4 separate regions of the Homo sapiens genome follow, and all the other regions are linked to region 1. The links are contacts of gene promoters, found by promoter capture Hi-C in human tissues and cell types (Jung and others, 2019). All regions are on one chromosome and are shown on one strand. Each heading gives the region's core, a stretch centred on a gene start or on the middle of the fragment in contact. The rest is flanking DNA. Distances are from core to core; before and after follow the strand shown. Region 1 holds the start of DMRT2 (doublesex and mab-3 related transcription factor 2). Region 2 has its middle 5.1 kb from the start of SMARCA2. Region 3 overlaps LOC105375951 (a long non-coding RNA gene). Region 4 has its middle 400 kb from the start of SMARCA2.

Region 1 (2,500 bases), core at 1-2,500:
TGCCTGGTCACCGGGGAGGAACTTTACAACATCACTGAAGGTTTGAGAATAGTGCTTCTGGCTGGTCGCGGTAGTTCCTAAGCTGCCTTTGTTCCCACTTCTCTGATCCAGGTTAACTTTTAACATTCTGACAAACTCGGACAAAAGTAACGTTGGGATTACGTCAGGAATTCCCACCCTTCAACAAATATTTGTTGCGGGCCTACTATGTACTCAGTGCAATGATACCCAATTTTGTAGTCTCCTAAACAGATCCTACTCGAGAGGTCTTGATTATTTACAGATGCAGTTAGAAAAGCGCCCATATTATTTTTAATTGAGTTCAAGAAATAGAATGCAGCGTTGAATTAGAAGACTAATTCCTTCTTTTAATATGTTGAAAATTTTTTATCGTTAAACATTTTGTAAAGGATTTTTTGAGGGAGTCGTTAGAAAGTCTATAAATACAACTACGCACACTAAAAAGTAGTCATCTTTTTAAAAATAACTTTGTTTAAATGCATGCTTAGTGTGAATGGATTTACCTAATTCTCTTAATAGCATGCATTTCTGATCTTCCCTACATTAACTGTAATAGCAACTGATATAACAGAAAAATGTAAGTGACTTGTAGTCGACTTGGCCACCTGCCACACGGGCTCGGTGAAGGTTAATGAGGAGCTATTTGGCACTTCGAGAATAGGTGGCACTAGACACAGAAATATCAACAGGCTATTTGTATGCTAACTAGGAGTTTCGGTGCCAGGTAACCATTGATGTACTCTTGCAGGAGAAAGAAGGATGTCGCTGTACGCCCCGAAAGAGAGGCATCATTTTTACGCCCAGTTTGGATTAATGATTGATTGAGTCGCAGAAATGCTTGTGATGCTGATAGAGGCCAATACTGGTCTTTCTGATCTCTTCCTCGTCGTTTATTACCTTCTCTTGTGGACAACGCATTCCTAAGAATGTATCTCTGCTTGTTTCCCAGTCCGCGAGATAAATGGTGACTTCTCTCTTGCAGGCACCGTCATACCTCGGGTTTAGATTCTGGACAGGCGAGCCGGCTGCACCGAAGGCCCGGTAGGCGGACTCTGGCGGAGCGCTTCAGAGAGAAGAGTGTAGACCGCGGGAGGCGGAGGGCTCCCTGCCAGCGTGCCTCGGCCAATCAGTATTCACACCGCCTGACAACCGGCCAATCAGAGGACGTAAAGCTCCGGGGCCTGAGCGGACAGTACTAGGAAGGGGAGCGCAGTCTGCAGACTGAAGCCAGTGGCGCTGCGCTGAATGCAACTGCGCGCGCCCGCCGGGTGAGCCAGCGATCTGAGCCAGGCGGGGGCGGCCCGACCTTTCCCGCCCAGCCTGGGTCAGAGGAAGCCGAAAGCGGCCTCAGCAAGGTGAGGCGCCCGAGGCTGCAGAAGACCGAGCAGAACTTTGCAGAGTTCGGGATGTGCTGGGCTAGGTCGCTGAGGACTTGACTGGCTTCCTCCCTCCTTCCCTCCACCTACCTTCTCCCTCCCCCTCCACCATCCAGTGGGTTCGTTCCGGGCCTCCAGCTATCAGCTCCCGATCTCGTGTTTGAGGGTAGCGACCCCGATTTCTGTTTGCATGCACAGCCAGCAGCCCTAGCGCCAGATCCTAAAGCTGGATATCTTTTAACTGGGCTACCAGCCCGGGCCTCAAAGTTTTGGTGAGTGCTGTGATGCCGCTCGGGGTGTCAGGGAGGGCAAAGGGCGTGAATCATCTTTCACCTTTTCTGTGTGACTTGGATGCCTTACCTTAAATATATAAACCAAGGCCTAAGTACAGAGAGCCCACGCGGCTCAGCCCTGTGCACCTCAGGTACTATTAAGGCTGGACGGGCGTCTGTATTGTGCTCTTTGCCCTTATGGGACGCTAATGACAACAAAATTTTGGTTTTCAGTTGAGTATTTTGGGGAGGGGGGTGAGAGGACCTCTTCAAGCCCAAGGAGGGGTCCTTGTGGTGGTGTAGGCTGATGAGAGGCATTTGGGAAGCATAGAGTGGTACTTCAGTGAGTCTGAAGGGCCACTTGTAATCAAAGGAAAACTGTTCTTCCACGGATAGTTTTATATGCATCATGGCCATACTAGTTGAGTATGGGGAAATCCGACAAGTGGCCTGGGGCTGCCTATTTGGACACAATATTTTGTGTGTGTGTGATAAGTGAGTTACCCAGGGACTTGTCCGGAAAGCCCGTGTAAAGCCAGAGAGGGCCACGGTTAAAGGTCAGGTACTCACAGAGCACTTAGAATTAATAAAATAAAACCTTTGTTGGGTTGTGGATCCCTGGGGGCCCTGGAGATACAGGAAAGGCACGTGTGGCCTGGAAGTGAGGGACATGTAATGAGAACAGGATGACTCAAGCGGCCGGAGGCGGGCAGACCAGGAGCTTTGGGCCGGAGGCTCAGGGATGGTCCCTGACGGCGGCCGGTGGGTCTTTGGATTTCTTTGTGTTTCCCCAGAGTGAGGGCCGCCAGGCTCAGGCCCCAGCGAAGCCCC
Region 2 (4,621 bases), core at 1,218-3,717, 960 kb after region 1:
CTAACTTTATTTTTCTCCAAAGCAGAATATTTATTTTGGGTTTTTAAAGAGTCATCTAATATAATTTCAATAGCTGTATCTGCTTTGATATATTCCTGGCTTATTTTCTACTCATCTCTTGAATTTACATAGAACTTCAAGTGTAGAAAACAGGACTGAAAAAAGACAATAGTGAATTGTGCTTTTGTGTACTGAACTTGAAGTAAGAATCTGGTGGGTGACATAACATAAGCCAAGCTGGAAAAGGGTCACACACCAACAAAAAGCAATGAATAGTAACTGAAAAGATAAGCCCAATAACAGCTGAAGGTGGTCAAAAAGTAAAATACTATAATAAAATATCATATAACAGCATGGGAGATGAATATATGGATTTAGCTGAGGGGCTTAGAGGTAAGCTACAGTGTTACATTGGTACCGAAGCACATTATCAATCAGAGAAGCACAGCACAGAACAAAGGGTAGCAGGTACAATGGCCAAACAAAAGTGAAAATATCTGAACAATTTACGACAGAAAATTTGAGAACCTGAATTCATGTTCTGATTCCTCATGTACAACTGCCCAAAGATGTGTCAAAACCTCAAAGATATATTGATGACAACACAAAAAATTCTTTCTAGTCTAGTCAACAATATATAATGCAGTATTATTGAGGAAATGCTTTAGAATAAACTTATCCTCAGAAAGCCCATCTCTGGAGATAAATGGAGTCCTTCTTTGGGCAGTTAGAATGCATTTGGTTTACCTAAAGAAACACTGAATTAGGATTTTAAAGGGTAGATATGTTTGGATATACAAAATGTGCACACTTAGTTTTATAAAAGTTATGGAGAGGATTAATTTCTTACCAGAAAATTATCCTAGGTTATTGAGGCTGCTGATACCTCTGGGTCAATGACTCTTACCCCTTTCCGGGAAGATCCCCTTGAGAATCTGATGAAATGTACAGACTCTGTCTGCAGAAAGCATACATTAACACGATCCTAGGATTTTGAACACAGTTTCAGGGGATTCTTAGATGTTCCAAAGATCATTTGTATTCCACCCCCATCAACCCTCCATCACGGATTAAGAACCCTGTACTGATGACAAATTTTGGGGCAGTTTTTACATGAGCAACACAGATTACTCTTGAGTGTGGAGTTCTACCAAGCTTAGTTAAAAATTCTGACTTCATCATTTAGTCATCTCCAAGTTGTTTAATCACATACCCCTTACAGTTAAAAAGCAAAAAAAAAAAAAAAAAAAAAAAAAAAAAAGATAGAGCATGATTTATGTATATTTACTCATAACACATGTATTCATTATTAATATATTATGTGCATTATAAAACATACACAAAATAAAAATTGTAAAAGAATAAGATGAATAGAAAATTTTCAATTATCTTGCTAAGCATGCTATCATACAATCAATAGTATCTCAAGGAAACATACATGCTTAGAACAGAATTAATCATTTATGAAAGTTAATATAAATCCAAATTTCAAATAGTCCTGGAAAATTATGAATGTTTTTGACCTATTTCTTTTTTTTCTCTTCTTTTTTTTTGGGGGGAGATGGAGATTTACTCTTGTTGCCCAGGCTGGAGTGCAATGGCGTGATCTTGGCTCACCGCATCCTCTGCCTCTCAGGCTCAAGCGATTCTCCTGCCTCAGCCTCCCGAGTAGCTGGAATTACAGACGTGTGTCACCACGCCCGGCTGATTTTGTATTTTTGGTAGAGACAGGGTTTCACCGTATTGCCCAGGCTGATCTCGAACTCCTTACCTCAGGTAATCCGCCCGCCTCGGCCTCCCAAAGTGCTGGGATTACAGGCGTGAGCCACAGCGCCCGGCCTGACCTATTTCTTGTTAGATCTCATTAGGCTGTCATTGTTTTAGTCCTCAATTTGGCTGGAAAAGAGTTCTCAGAGGTTAAACTGGCAAATTTGATCCTGATTTTCACCTGTGCTTATATTATTGGTATTATCTCAATTTTCTATTTCCTCACAGAAATTGTTTTTTAAGCCACGTGCTCCCCAAATAAGAGAGTTGATTGATATAGGCCGGGCACGGTGGCTCACGCCTGTAATCCCAGCACTTTGAGAGGCTGAGGTGGGCGGATCACGAGGTCAGGAGATCGAGACCAACCTGGCTAACACGGTGAAACCCCGTCTCTACTAAAAATACAAAAAATTAGCCGGGCGTGGTGGCGGGCGCCTGTAGTCCCAGGTACTCGGGAGGCTGAGGCGGGAGAATGGCGTGAACCCGGGAGGCGGAGCTTGCAGTGAGCAGAGATCAAGCCACTGCACTCCAGCCTGGGCAACAGAGCGAGATCTGTCTCAAAAAACAAAAACAAAAACAAAGACAAACAAAAAAAAAAACTAGATGATATAATCTTAAGAATTTATTTAACGTGGAACCTGTAAAATTAAGGCAATATCAATGCTTAAAAAGATGTCAATGACAATGAAAGAACCAGAAGGTGCCAGTATCACCCCTCTGCCTGTGGCGCTTTTTGTTTTTCAGTACTCTTCAGCTACACTACATGACACATGACCAGTTTACTTAGGGACCATGTAAAACACTCTAGGGTCAAGGGTCAATGAGTATAATAAATATACATAAAGCTCTTTTTTGTCCTTGCATCATTACTTTTTTCAATTATTAAAGAAAAAAGAAACAGATTTTCTTCTGTTCTTCCTATTTCACAGTAAATTGTCTTGGTCACTCCGCTTTGGAGATCCCTGCCTTAGGCAAATTACTTCCTGATTCTCAGTTTCCTCACCTGTAAAATGGAGATGAAGTCATAGATCTCGTAGGGTTAAATGGATTAAACAACATATGTACAAGTCTCTGTACAACTTCAGGCATGTAATTTAAAAGAGAAATAAAAAGGAGCTGCAATTATAATTGTGACTACTGTATTAAACAATTGCCATGTATGCATTCATGTTACTCCTAGCCTAATTTAAAAACAAACAAAACCTCTTGTCGGTGCTCTTTCTATGACTACAAGAGCTGTAGCTTCTCCTCATCTTCCCACATCCCCCCTCCCCAAAACAAAACAAAACAAAACCAAACAAAAACCAAACACATTTTCCAAGCGTTTTCAAGCCTTGGCAGATACTGTAAAGATTCGGAACACTTACTGATGTTGTTCATTAACATGATAATTACTAATAGTGAAGACCGGCTAAATTTTCTATGTCAGGTAATTTTATTATCTATCTCTCATCCTTTCCTTCAACAAAGTTTTTTTTTCTTTTCTTTTTTTAAATACAATGTGCTAGGTATCAGGGTAATTGCTGAGGTTTCAAAGATGAATCGAAACACCCTCCAGGCACTAACCATCTAGAGGACAACACCAAACAAATAATTGCATCAAAGTGATAAGTGCTATAATGGAGGCGCACACCGGTTGCTATGGGAGCAGAGTAGGACAAGCAGCTTCCTCTGCCTGGGGAGAACAGGGAAGACCACTAGAAGGATTCTGGGTCATAGTTGAGTTTTGAGGATGTGGGTTGAGGATCTGCACTTCAGTCAGAGGGGAGAATGTCCAATGTGGTCACTTAGGAACCAAACGGTAGACAGGTTTTCCCTGAGCCCAGGCATTTTTGGCGGCAGGGTCAACAACGCTGGTAGAGACCTGTCTATGCACAGCCTAGGATAACATGCCAAGAAGTTTGAAACTTACCGTAAAATGGATTGGGAATAGACAAAGGATTTTAAGCTAAAGAACGATATAATCATAAAGAGAATTGGGGGTGGTATTTTGGGGGAATGATTGTGAAAAACATAATTTATTGAACATGCCCATTAGAAAAAAAAGAGAGAGCGGGGTGTGGTGACTCACCCCTGTAATCCTAGCACTTTGGGAGGCAGAGGCGGGTGGATCACTTGAGTTCAGGAGTTCCAGATCAGCCTGGCCAACATGGTGAAACCCTGTCTCTACAAAAAATACAAAAATTAGCTGGATATGGTGGCGGGCACCTGTAATCCCAGCTAATCGAGAAGCTGAGGTTCGAGAATCCCTTGAACCTGGGAGGCGGCGGTTGCAGTGAGCCAAGATCCCGCCACTGCACTCCAGCCTGGGCAATAGAGCGAGACTCTGACTCAAAAAGGAAAAAAAGAAAAAAGGAGAGAGAGGAGTGTTTATTTCTGTAATAAATTTACTTGTTAATTCTAAACTATTCTTTAAATTAAATGTCAGCTGATTCAATTTGTCAAATCTTGGTTTCCATTACTGAAGATGAAATACTCACTGCCTAAACGGTCTTACCTGCTCGTGTTTGAAGCTAGGCAACATTTCAGGCAGCATTAACAGTTTGTCTGTTGGGACTAGAAGCTTCCTAACGTTGTGCATGGAATTTTTCTTTATGAGGGTGTTGTATCCAGATACCAAGTTTTAAACCCAGTATCTACTCTATACAGAATGTAACCAAAGCAGACTTACATAACAAGTGAATGTGGCCATACAGACATGAAAAAGTGACTTCTATCTTTTGATACCAAACTAGAAAGAGAAAAGCAAGTTCAGAGAACACATTATGACTCATCAAAGTCCAAAAAGAAAAGCTGCGTGTGAACGTAGCACCCTGTGCAGCCTCCTGGAGTCCTTTTACCCTCCAACCACATT
Region 3 (4,621 bases), core at 1,503-4,002, 890 kb after region 1:
CCCTGGTTGGCTTTTCTTTTTTCTTGGTGACACTGAAGGTGGCATTTAGGGTGGAAAAGGAGGAATTGGAAAGCGCATTCCCTCTGGCATCCTTAGGGAGGTGGGCAAGTACCATAATTCAGATAATTTCTTTTAAGTGCCTCCTGATGTAAAAAGAAGGATAGGAATTATTTTCTCTTTCTTGAATGCACAATGAATAATGTATCTTTGGGTCAATTCTCCAAATGAGCTACGTGCCATTGCAGAGCAAAACTGGAGAGTGAATTACAATGAATTTTCTTTCCTTTTCCAAGTCCTTGAGAGTACCTTATTGCATTCTTTATCCAAGTCAATATATATATTGGGGACCCCAAACATGGTGTTATTGTCTATGGCAAAAATAAATTTGGGCCTTCCTCAAGGAACTTCTAATATATCAGAGACAGTCATGTAATCCACAGACTATAACACAATGTATACTTAAATTATTAATAAAACAGATATGAAAGCAAAGTGCTAGAATAGCTCATGGGGAGAATTTCCCATAGAAAAATAGGAAATTCTTCATGGAGGGGGAATCCTTTCAGCATTCCATGATTGAAAGAAAAATGAGGCTGGATGCGGTGGCTCACGCCTGTAATCCCAACACTTTGGGAGGCCAAGGTGGGTGGATCCCCTGAGGTCAGAAGTTTGAGACCAGCCTGACTAATATGGCGAAACCCCATCTCTATTAAAAATACAAAAATTCGCCGGCCGTGGTGGTGGGCGCCTGTGATTCCCAGCTACTTGGAAGGCTGAGGCAGGAGGATAGCTTGAACCCAGGAGATGGAAGTTGCAGTGAGAAGAGATAGCGCCACTGCACTCCACCCTAGGTAACGGAGCAAGACTCTGTCTCAAAAAAAAAAAAAAAAAAAAAAAATGAGCTCACTGAGCTCATTAACTCTTATAAGCTTTTATCAAATTGTTTAGAACCTGACATAATCACACAATTTCACAGAGGAGCATACTATTGGAGGAAATAGAAATTTAGAAAGAGATAATAGAAGGTATAACGATGATAAACAACATTTAATAAATGCCTACAAAATACCAAATGCTTTAAATATTTAATTTAATTTAATCCATATAAGAATCTTGCAAGGCTGGTGTTATTGGTGCATTGCACACTTGAAGAAACCAGAGCTCAACGATGTTAAGTAATTTGCCCAGTTCACAAAGTTCCTAATTGCCAATGCCAGGATTTGGAGCTAGGTCTATTTTTTACAACCTTGGCTTTTCCTATTTCACTATGCTACCTTAAAAAAAGTATATAAAAGGCAAGTAAGTGCTTGATGTCATTCTTCCTGAAGGACATGAAAGGAATGTGCAAACAGCACGGTCATTTTCTATAGTAAAATCTTTTAATTATGACCCAAATCACAGCACTGCGGTGCTAAGCTGATTGTGAGCTCACCTGAAGTCAAAGCACTTCCCAGCAAGTTCAGTGGCAACACTCGGCTCCTTTTCTATTAGCAAATAGAGAACCCTAGGAAGGTATGTTTTATCCAACTTAGACCAAAATGTTATGGAGTGAAACATTTATAAGGTTGCCAGTGGGAGGTGAAAGAAAAGAAAAGGGTAGAGTTTGCAACTTAGTATCTCTAAAACTTCATTTAGGGACCTACTATTATTACCGTTCTGGAAATAAAGTACCTGTACGGCCCTTTTAAGGACTGTTTTAGACAATATTCACAGGGAGCATAAAAGCCCTGAATGAACAAGTTGACAGAATTGTGTGGCTGGGAGCATCCGTCTAATTTGATGAGTTTAGAACCAATTCTGCAGCCCAAATGAAGAGTCTGTGTCTCAGATGATACTCATGATTCACTAATGGGTTGCTTTTCATAAGTAACGAGATGACTCACATCATTTGTTTCCCAAGGTAGGCGATGTTTTCTGTCATTACTTTTAATGATTTATTTACCCTTCACCATTTTTAATCATTGAACGCTGTCAATTCATTGGAATCCTCTGGACCAAAATATTATAAGTTTATCTTCTTTTAAAGCTTAGAATAAAATCAGGCAATTGCTTCACAGAACTTCAGTTTACTGCCTTGCTTATTCTTTTGTGTCACATCAGATATACATGTATATATAAAATATATGTAATATATATGTATATATATAATATATATGTATATATAATATATATGTATGTATATATATTATATATATGTATATATAATATATATGTATGTATATATATTATATATGTATATATAATATATATGTATGTATATTATATATGTGTATATAATATATATATAATATATATGTATATATATAATATATATGTGTATATATATAATATATATATATACACACACACACATATGATATAGGAAAATTCAGAAATTAGAATTGAGCAAATGCTGCCCCGGTTCTGCCTGCAACCCTATTTTCCATGATAGATGGTAGAGAAGAGTATACTTGAAGATTCCAAGTAAAAATATCTACCAGAACTTTGAAGAGGAAGACACAAGAATAGAAAAAGGAAATATATCCTGGGACAAGGTATGCATATGGAAAAGCCAATTAAATACTTTGTTTTAATTAATTTAAGTGTCCTTTAACTCACTCTTGATAATATATCCCATCTTGGATTGATTTCTCTGTAAGAACACGACATCCAACCTCATCATGTCTTGGGGTAAAAAAAAATTCACCAAGACCATGGAATTCATTCATCCACTTCAACATTTACCGAGAACCTATTATTGCTACTCTGTGCTCATCACTATACTTCCAGTTTTGAGTGATGAAAATAGAGAATTAGCAAGGGTCATAAAACAACTTATTCCCCAAGGCTTACAGTTAATCTATTGATTATGCATATTTGTCACCCATAGGGGTATAATTTCTGGTTCTCTCTGGAATAGATAATTTGCACATTTGAAAGGTTTTTAAGTGCGCTTTCAGTCCTGAAGCAGTAAGTGTATCTCATAAGTCTAGTTAAGAAATAAAGGCATGCTAAGTCATACTCCTCAAAATATTAATACATAACTGAAGAATATTTGGCTTACTGTGTTGTCTTGTTAAGGAAAATGGAAGAGATGGTGACTTACCATGACAAGGTAAATATCAAAAGATCAATGCTAGAATTTTAATGAAAATCATTTAAGCTTGCCCCATGGGAAGTTTAGCTGATCAATTCTGAGTACTAGGCTTATACTTCAGAGGCATGTTAATGGTTAAGCAATTTTGTTCATTTATAAAAGGAGTGGGGGTGTGGAGAATAGGAACCCAGTGATTGGCAGAGTACTTACAAGTCTGCAAGACACAGGAAAATTGCAAAGATAATGTAGTAGTTTTCATGGAGCATTGCCCTGTTACTATAGTTTCATCTCAGCAAAGGGCACTATCAGCACCAAACAAGTGTGATATACAGCTCCTCAGTCAAAATGGGAGCAAAACCAGACCTGCTAAGGAGGAAGACACCATGGCAGAAGCGCTGGTCAGGCTAAAGGCCAACTATGCCTATGAAATCTGGGACAAATAGTAAATACCAGCAATTTGAGGTTGGCTCAAAAATGAAGGGACAGGTATGAAGCAGGAATGCATGAGATATTCTTTGAAGCAAGATGGTATGACTGTCTTTTCCTCCCAGGTTTTATTCAGCATTTCCATGTCCCTTCTGATCAGACCTCTGACAGTGGGTGAGGCCAAAAGCCAGACAGACACTGGGCCACTATTTCCTATGTAAGGAGACTACTAGGTACAGAGTACAGTATTTTGAATTTAGGGGTAAAGTGGGCCAAGAGCTCTGCAAAGATGACTCTTGATGTGAAATAATGACCACTACATTCTCTTGGGAGCAGCTGGTGTGAACCAGCACCCCTGAGCAACCAGGACCTGAGAGAATGATGTGTTTATTTATGTGAAGCTGGGTGCTGATGCTCATCATTTTCATAATTACTTTATTTCTCATCTCCCCCATTTCCATGGGCCAAACATAAAGTGTGCAGGAAAGCAACTACCTATATGTGCTTCTATTTACTCAAGTTTACAGCTATCGTACAGTACTGATTAATCCTCCCTTCTCCATGACACTGAGGCAGTAGCATTCTAATGCCATCTTTATTATTGTTCGCCAGATCGCATACTACTGCATACAGAAATAGGGTAAATCACGGAACTAGTGTTTGAGGTCCATAAAATGCAAGGTTATGAATATTTCATTACTATACATTTTATTTCCCTGTCTATTCTGCATCTCCCAAAATGTTGTTTGTTTACTTATTGGCTCACTGTTCACCAGAAATACTTAATTCTTAATACAAAGTGTGGACTGGATCACCAACCCCTGCTTTGTGGCCTGAGCTACATTTGAAAGTAATGATGGACTTTTTTCTCTCTCTTTTTAATCATCCCTTCAATCCACAAATACTTGACTGCCAGGTTACTTCACTAACAGGAGTTTCAGCTTCTTCGTCATAATTGTATTGATTTGCAAGCCCCGCAAATCAATTCCCAAACATTTCTCCTGTGAACTATGGCTACGTATTTAAATTTTTCTCAACGCCCCATTGTATCCGTCTTTGGCTGAAGTAAGCAGTTAGACTTTTGCTGCAGATCTTGGCAATGAAAGACACATTGTGCAA
Region 4 (4,621 bases), core at 1,251-3,750, 560 kb after region 1:
CAACCAGGTTCTTCTTTGCTTATTTTTTTTCCCCCGGGAGAAAGCCTTTCCAAATCCTCAAAAGGAAGGTGGAGGGTGAGAAGATGATCATGCGTCATGGACCAAGAAGGCCTTTCTGGGCCAAAGTTTGTGGATGTTTTCTAAGAATGAAGGGTACCCATTTAAGCTAAAAGGAGTGGGAGGAAATGGTAAACCAGTCCATTCTTGGGGGCTGACCAGGACTGAACAAGATTTTGTACAGGATGAGCAGGGAAATTAACACACAGGGTTTACCCACTCTGTGTCAGTCGTGTGTTTGGTTTAATTCTGCAACTTAAGTGTTACAGTGACTGGAACAGCCCAGATCAAATTCCAGTCCTGTAGGCTTTGGCTGGATGAGTGTGCTAGATCAGTGTTTCTCATACTTTAAAGTGCATATGAATTACCTAAGATGTTGCCAGAATGCAGATGCTGGTTCAGCAAGTCTGGGGTGGAGCCCAAGATTCTGCATTTCCAAGGAGCATCCAGGTGATGCTGAATGCTATCAGTTTTTGGACCACATTTCCAGAACTGGGCTATAAACTCAGGCCTTTCAACAGTTCTAAGTGTTTCTGATTCTGAGCACCATTAAAATTGTAGACTCTCTGGGACAGGAGATGTTACACCAGATGGCCTCCTGTAATGCTGAATGCTTCAATGCAAAGTTAAGTTGGGCCAGTTTCTGATTCCTTTTCCTCATAATTCATTAGGGTTACTCCAAAAAATTTATTGTGCTGTGACCACTAGCTTTGTTTACATTTTCCCAATAGATATTCTCTAACTTACCTGTGGACACTCTAGAGACAGTTATGACAAGGCTTTGGGTATGTGTCAAAGTCTGTGACCCTTCCTCAGCTCTGATATTCACTAGCATTTATCAGAGACACGAAAATATAAACTTCAAGCACCCACACACTTTTCCCTTTGAAGACTCCATTTTCATTTAAATATTTATTGAGAAGGAAAACAGTATTGGCAAACAGGACCAGGCTAAGAATGGCAACTTTTCATTACAGTGTGAGATTTAGCATAGTATATTCTCACTATATATAACTCCTTGGTTTTGTGATAAGATCAAGAAGCTTTACATGAATTTTGTTATAAATCAATACAAAATGTTAACACATGTATATAATTTTTAATTTTATTATATACATATGAATTTTTCTTATGAAAAGCGTGAATTTTTAGGAAAGATACTTTTAATGAACTTTGATGATATTTTTCCTCAAAACTATGCAAATTCTGTTGCATTGGAGATGTCTGTAGGACATCAAAGAGCTGGTCTCCACAGAGGAGGTGAAAATTCAAGACTTTGACACATACCCAAAGCCTCTCAGCAGAAGTTTGAGGACTTTCCACTATAGTGATATTTGGAGTTGTAGGATGGAAGAGAAAATTCAGTGGAATATTGGGGAATGTCTCCTTCTGCCTAAAATCTCCTCTGCTAGCAACAAATACCCCATTTACATGATGTAATTATCATGCATTGCATGCCTATATCAAAATACCTTATGTAGCCCATAAATATATACAACTATGTACCCACAAAAATTAAAAATAAAATATCCTCCTCTAGTCCAGCTGAGATGTTCTTTATTTTATAAATCTCCCACTCCTAAGCAAAACACTGAGCAAGATAATTAAAGTTGAAAGGGACTTTAAAGTCATTTAATATAACTAGAGTGACTATATGATTTATCTTCCAAACTGGGACATTTTTGATAGCGAAATGGGGTAGAACTAATAATTATGCTAGGGAAACATGTAAACTAGAACTGTCCTGGGAAAACTGAGATGCATGGACACCCTAAATATAATCCAGCCTTTCAATGAGGTTAAAAATTCACCCAATCTCGGCGCCGTGGCTCATGCCTGTAATCCCAGCACTTTGGGAGGCTGAGGCAGGTGGATCATGAGGTCAGGGGTTCAAGACCAGCCTGACAAACATGCTGAAACCCCATCTCTACTTAAAAAAAAAAAAAAAATTAGCCAGGTGTGGTGGCACGCGCCTGTAATCCCAGCTACACATGAGGCTGAGGCAGGAGAATCGCTTGAGCCTGGGAGGCGGAGGTTGCAGTAAGCGGAGATCGAGCCACTGCACTCTAGCCTGGGAGACAAAGGGAGACCCCGTCTCAAAAAAAAAAAAAAAAAAAAATTCACCTGATCTCATCTCAGTTGGTCATCTGAACTCTTCACTACAATACCTGAGTAGGGGTACCCATGCCTGCACAAAGGAATTTATTCCATTGTTAGGTAAATTTAGATTATTTTAGTTGTGAGAATGTTCTTTCTACCATTGCCATGGTATTTGCAAAACATTCCCTTAACTTCATGCTGCCACTTTGGACAACCCAGTACAAGTGGGCTCCCTCTTGTTGGTGTTACTGCTGAAAGGACTGAGTGATTTTCTCTGTTAGGCTGAGTTCCTCAAAGCTACTTGCCTGTGTCTCCCACTCTGTGTCTCTCCCCACTAGTGAATGATTGACTCAACTGATAGACGAGTCCCTCTACAAACAATCTGAGTCTTACGAAATGTCCTAATTAGGACTATTGGAAGACATCTAGTCCAACCTCTAATCCAGTGTTCTCATCCAAAGGAAATCAGAATTTTCTCTAAGACACCCCTTCCAAGCTGTTGTCTATTCTGTCTTTAAACATTTCCAATCAATGGGAAATTTACTGCTTTCAGAGGTAGACTATTCCATCTTTGCCCAACTCATGACTGAAGAATGTCCTGCCAAAGTGCTTCAAAGTTTCATGATACACTCTATGGGAAATTTTGTGATAGGAATTTTGATCTTAGGATTTTGGAGTCAGTCATAAGACGAAATCCACGTTTAGGAAATATACATACATTTAGAGTGAATCATTATTGCTTTAATTTATTCAAAAATATTTGTTGACCATGCATTACTTTTCAGAGATTAACCAGGTATGCTGCTGAGTCCCAAGAAAATTGTCATCAAGCGAGAGATGATAAAATTATATGATAGCCCTTATAACATTTTATTTTTATTCACTTATAAAACTTACATAGGCATAAAAAAAAGGGAGACCAATTCAGTGTTGGCAGGACAGGAGAGACTCCTCAAAGGAAGTAGTAGATGAATAGATGAACAGTATTTCTCTAGACAAAGAAGATGGAGAAAGCCACCCAACAGAGAGTACAAGATGTGCAGATATAAGCGTCTCAAATTAGATGACCCAACAGTTCTCAGAATTGATTCCACTATTGATTTTCAGATTAAGTGACTGGGCTATTTTTATATTCAAGAATGAGATTCTTAAATTTGTTAACACTGTATCTTACAGTGTGAATGAAGCTGACTTGGCGATTCTTAAAGTCTTCCATGAATGTATTCTTGGAAGTCTTTGTTCTCGTACTTGAAGTATAAGGGATATGGACTAGGTAATCCCAAGATTCTGTTATAACTGGAAAATTCTATTAGTTACATGGGTGCAGCAGTAAAAAATTCCTAGACTGGGAGGCTGAGAGCTCTCCTGTGTCCAAACTTCACTATGAATTAGCTATTGCAACTGAGAAAAGTCCTTCTTCTCTGTAAGAATTTCCTCTTTGTAAAATTAGGACCATACAAAGTAATTGTTAAAGTTCTTCCTGGACTTTCTATTTTATGATATTATCTCCTTCCTTTCTTTGAGTTTGCTCTATATCCTTTGTAAGGAAACTATCTTCCTTTCTTTCCTTGTGTATTGTGTAATGTCCATGTTAAGAATTGGGAACTGGCTTTGCCTGAGCTTGAGGGTGACCAATGGTCAATTCCATTGATTAGAGGGAGCTGAGGGTGAAGGGGAACAGAAAAGGGTTAGGGAAGTTAGAGACTGCCATGTATCTCAGCGCAGCAATTTGAATAGGAAGTATGAAGCCTATAAGAGATACAGGGTGAGACTTAGCATTTTACTACATTTTTAGTATCCTCAGCTCTGGAAGAATAATTCCCAGATTCCCAGAATTAACTCATAACTTCCTTTTCTCAGTATTTCAAAGAGTATCAAATTTGTTTTTTTAATTATGAAACATACTTTTAATTTTAAACATACTGAGAACTATAGAAAACAGTATACAGACACCAGTGTACCTACCACCCAAATTTAATATTTTTTGTCTACATATGAGCTTCAAATCATTTTTCTTATAAGAAAATATTGCATTACAAATGTAACTGAAGCCCTAGAACACTCCTCCGAATTCCCTCCTCCCCAGGGGTAAATACTGTCCTGAAGTTGACATATGTCATTCTAGTGCATACGTTTTTTACTTCCACACGTTTATTCTTAAAATATACATGTATAGTGCTATATTGTGCCTTTCAAAATTTCACATAACTGGTATTATTATCTCTCTGTCTTTTTTTTTTTTTTTAAGGCAGGGTTTCACTCTGTTGCTCAGGCTGGAGTGCAGTGGTGCAACCATGGCTCACTGCAACCTCAACCTCCCAAGGCTCAGGTGATCTTCCCACCTCAGCTTCCTGAGTTTCTGGAACTACAGGATTGCGTCACCATGCCTGGCTAGTTTTTCTATTTTTGTAGAGATGGGTGTTGCCATGCTGCCCAGGCTTGTCTCGAACTCCTAGGCTCAAGC

Evidence for each region. Contacts are between HindIII fragments. The study calls those that stand out against the background at their distance.
Region 2: a fragment that was not itself captured here is called in contact with the fragment with the promoter of DMRT2 in region 1 in 1 of the 25 tissues and cell types used here (hippocampus).
Region 3: a fragment that was not itself captured here is called in contact with the fragment with the promoter of DMRT2 in region 1 in 2 of the 25 tissues and cell types used here (dorsolateral prefrontal cortex and mesenchymal stem cells).
Region 4: a contact is called between a fragment that was not itself captured here and the fragment with the promoter of DMRT2 in region 1, in 2 of the 25 tissues and cell types used here (H1 embryonic stem cells and lymphoblastoid cells).

Annotation. Positions count from the first base shown.
Region 1 is chr9:1,049,107-1,051,606 of GRCh38, forward strand. DMRT2 (doublesex and mab-3 related transcription factor 2) reads left to right here and starts at 1,251. Exons shown (of 4, transcript NM_181872.6): 1 at 1,251-1,669; 2 at 2,464-2,500. RefSeq lists an enhancer at 1,023-1,892. The HindIII fragment of the contact is 14,990 bases long and covers 1-2,500 here.
Region 2 is chr9:2,007,961-2,012,581 of GRCh38, forward strand. No RefSeq gene overlaps it. Among named protein-coding and RNA genes, the nearest start is that of SMARCA2, 5.1 kb to the right of the region's middle. RefSeq lists an enhancer at 4,547-4,621. The HindIII fragment of the contact is 5,967 bases long and covers 1-4,621 here.
Region 3 is chr9:1,942,097-1,946,717 of GRCh38, forward strand. All of the region lies in intron 2 of LOC105375951 (a long non-coding RNA gene), which reads left to right. Among named protein-coding and RNA genes, the nearest start is that of SMARCA2, 71 kb to the right of the region's middle. The HindIII fragment of the contact is 4,864 bases long and covers 321-4,621 here.
Region 4 is chr9:1,608,548-1,613,168 of GRCh38, forward strand. No RefSeq gene overlaps it. Among named protein-coding and RNA genes, the nearest start is that of SMARCA2, 400 kb to the right of the region's middle. The HindIII fragment of the contact is 5,656 bases long and covers 1-4,621 here.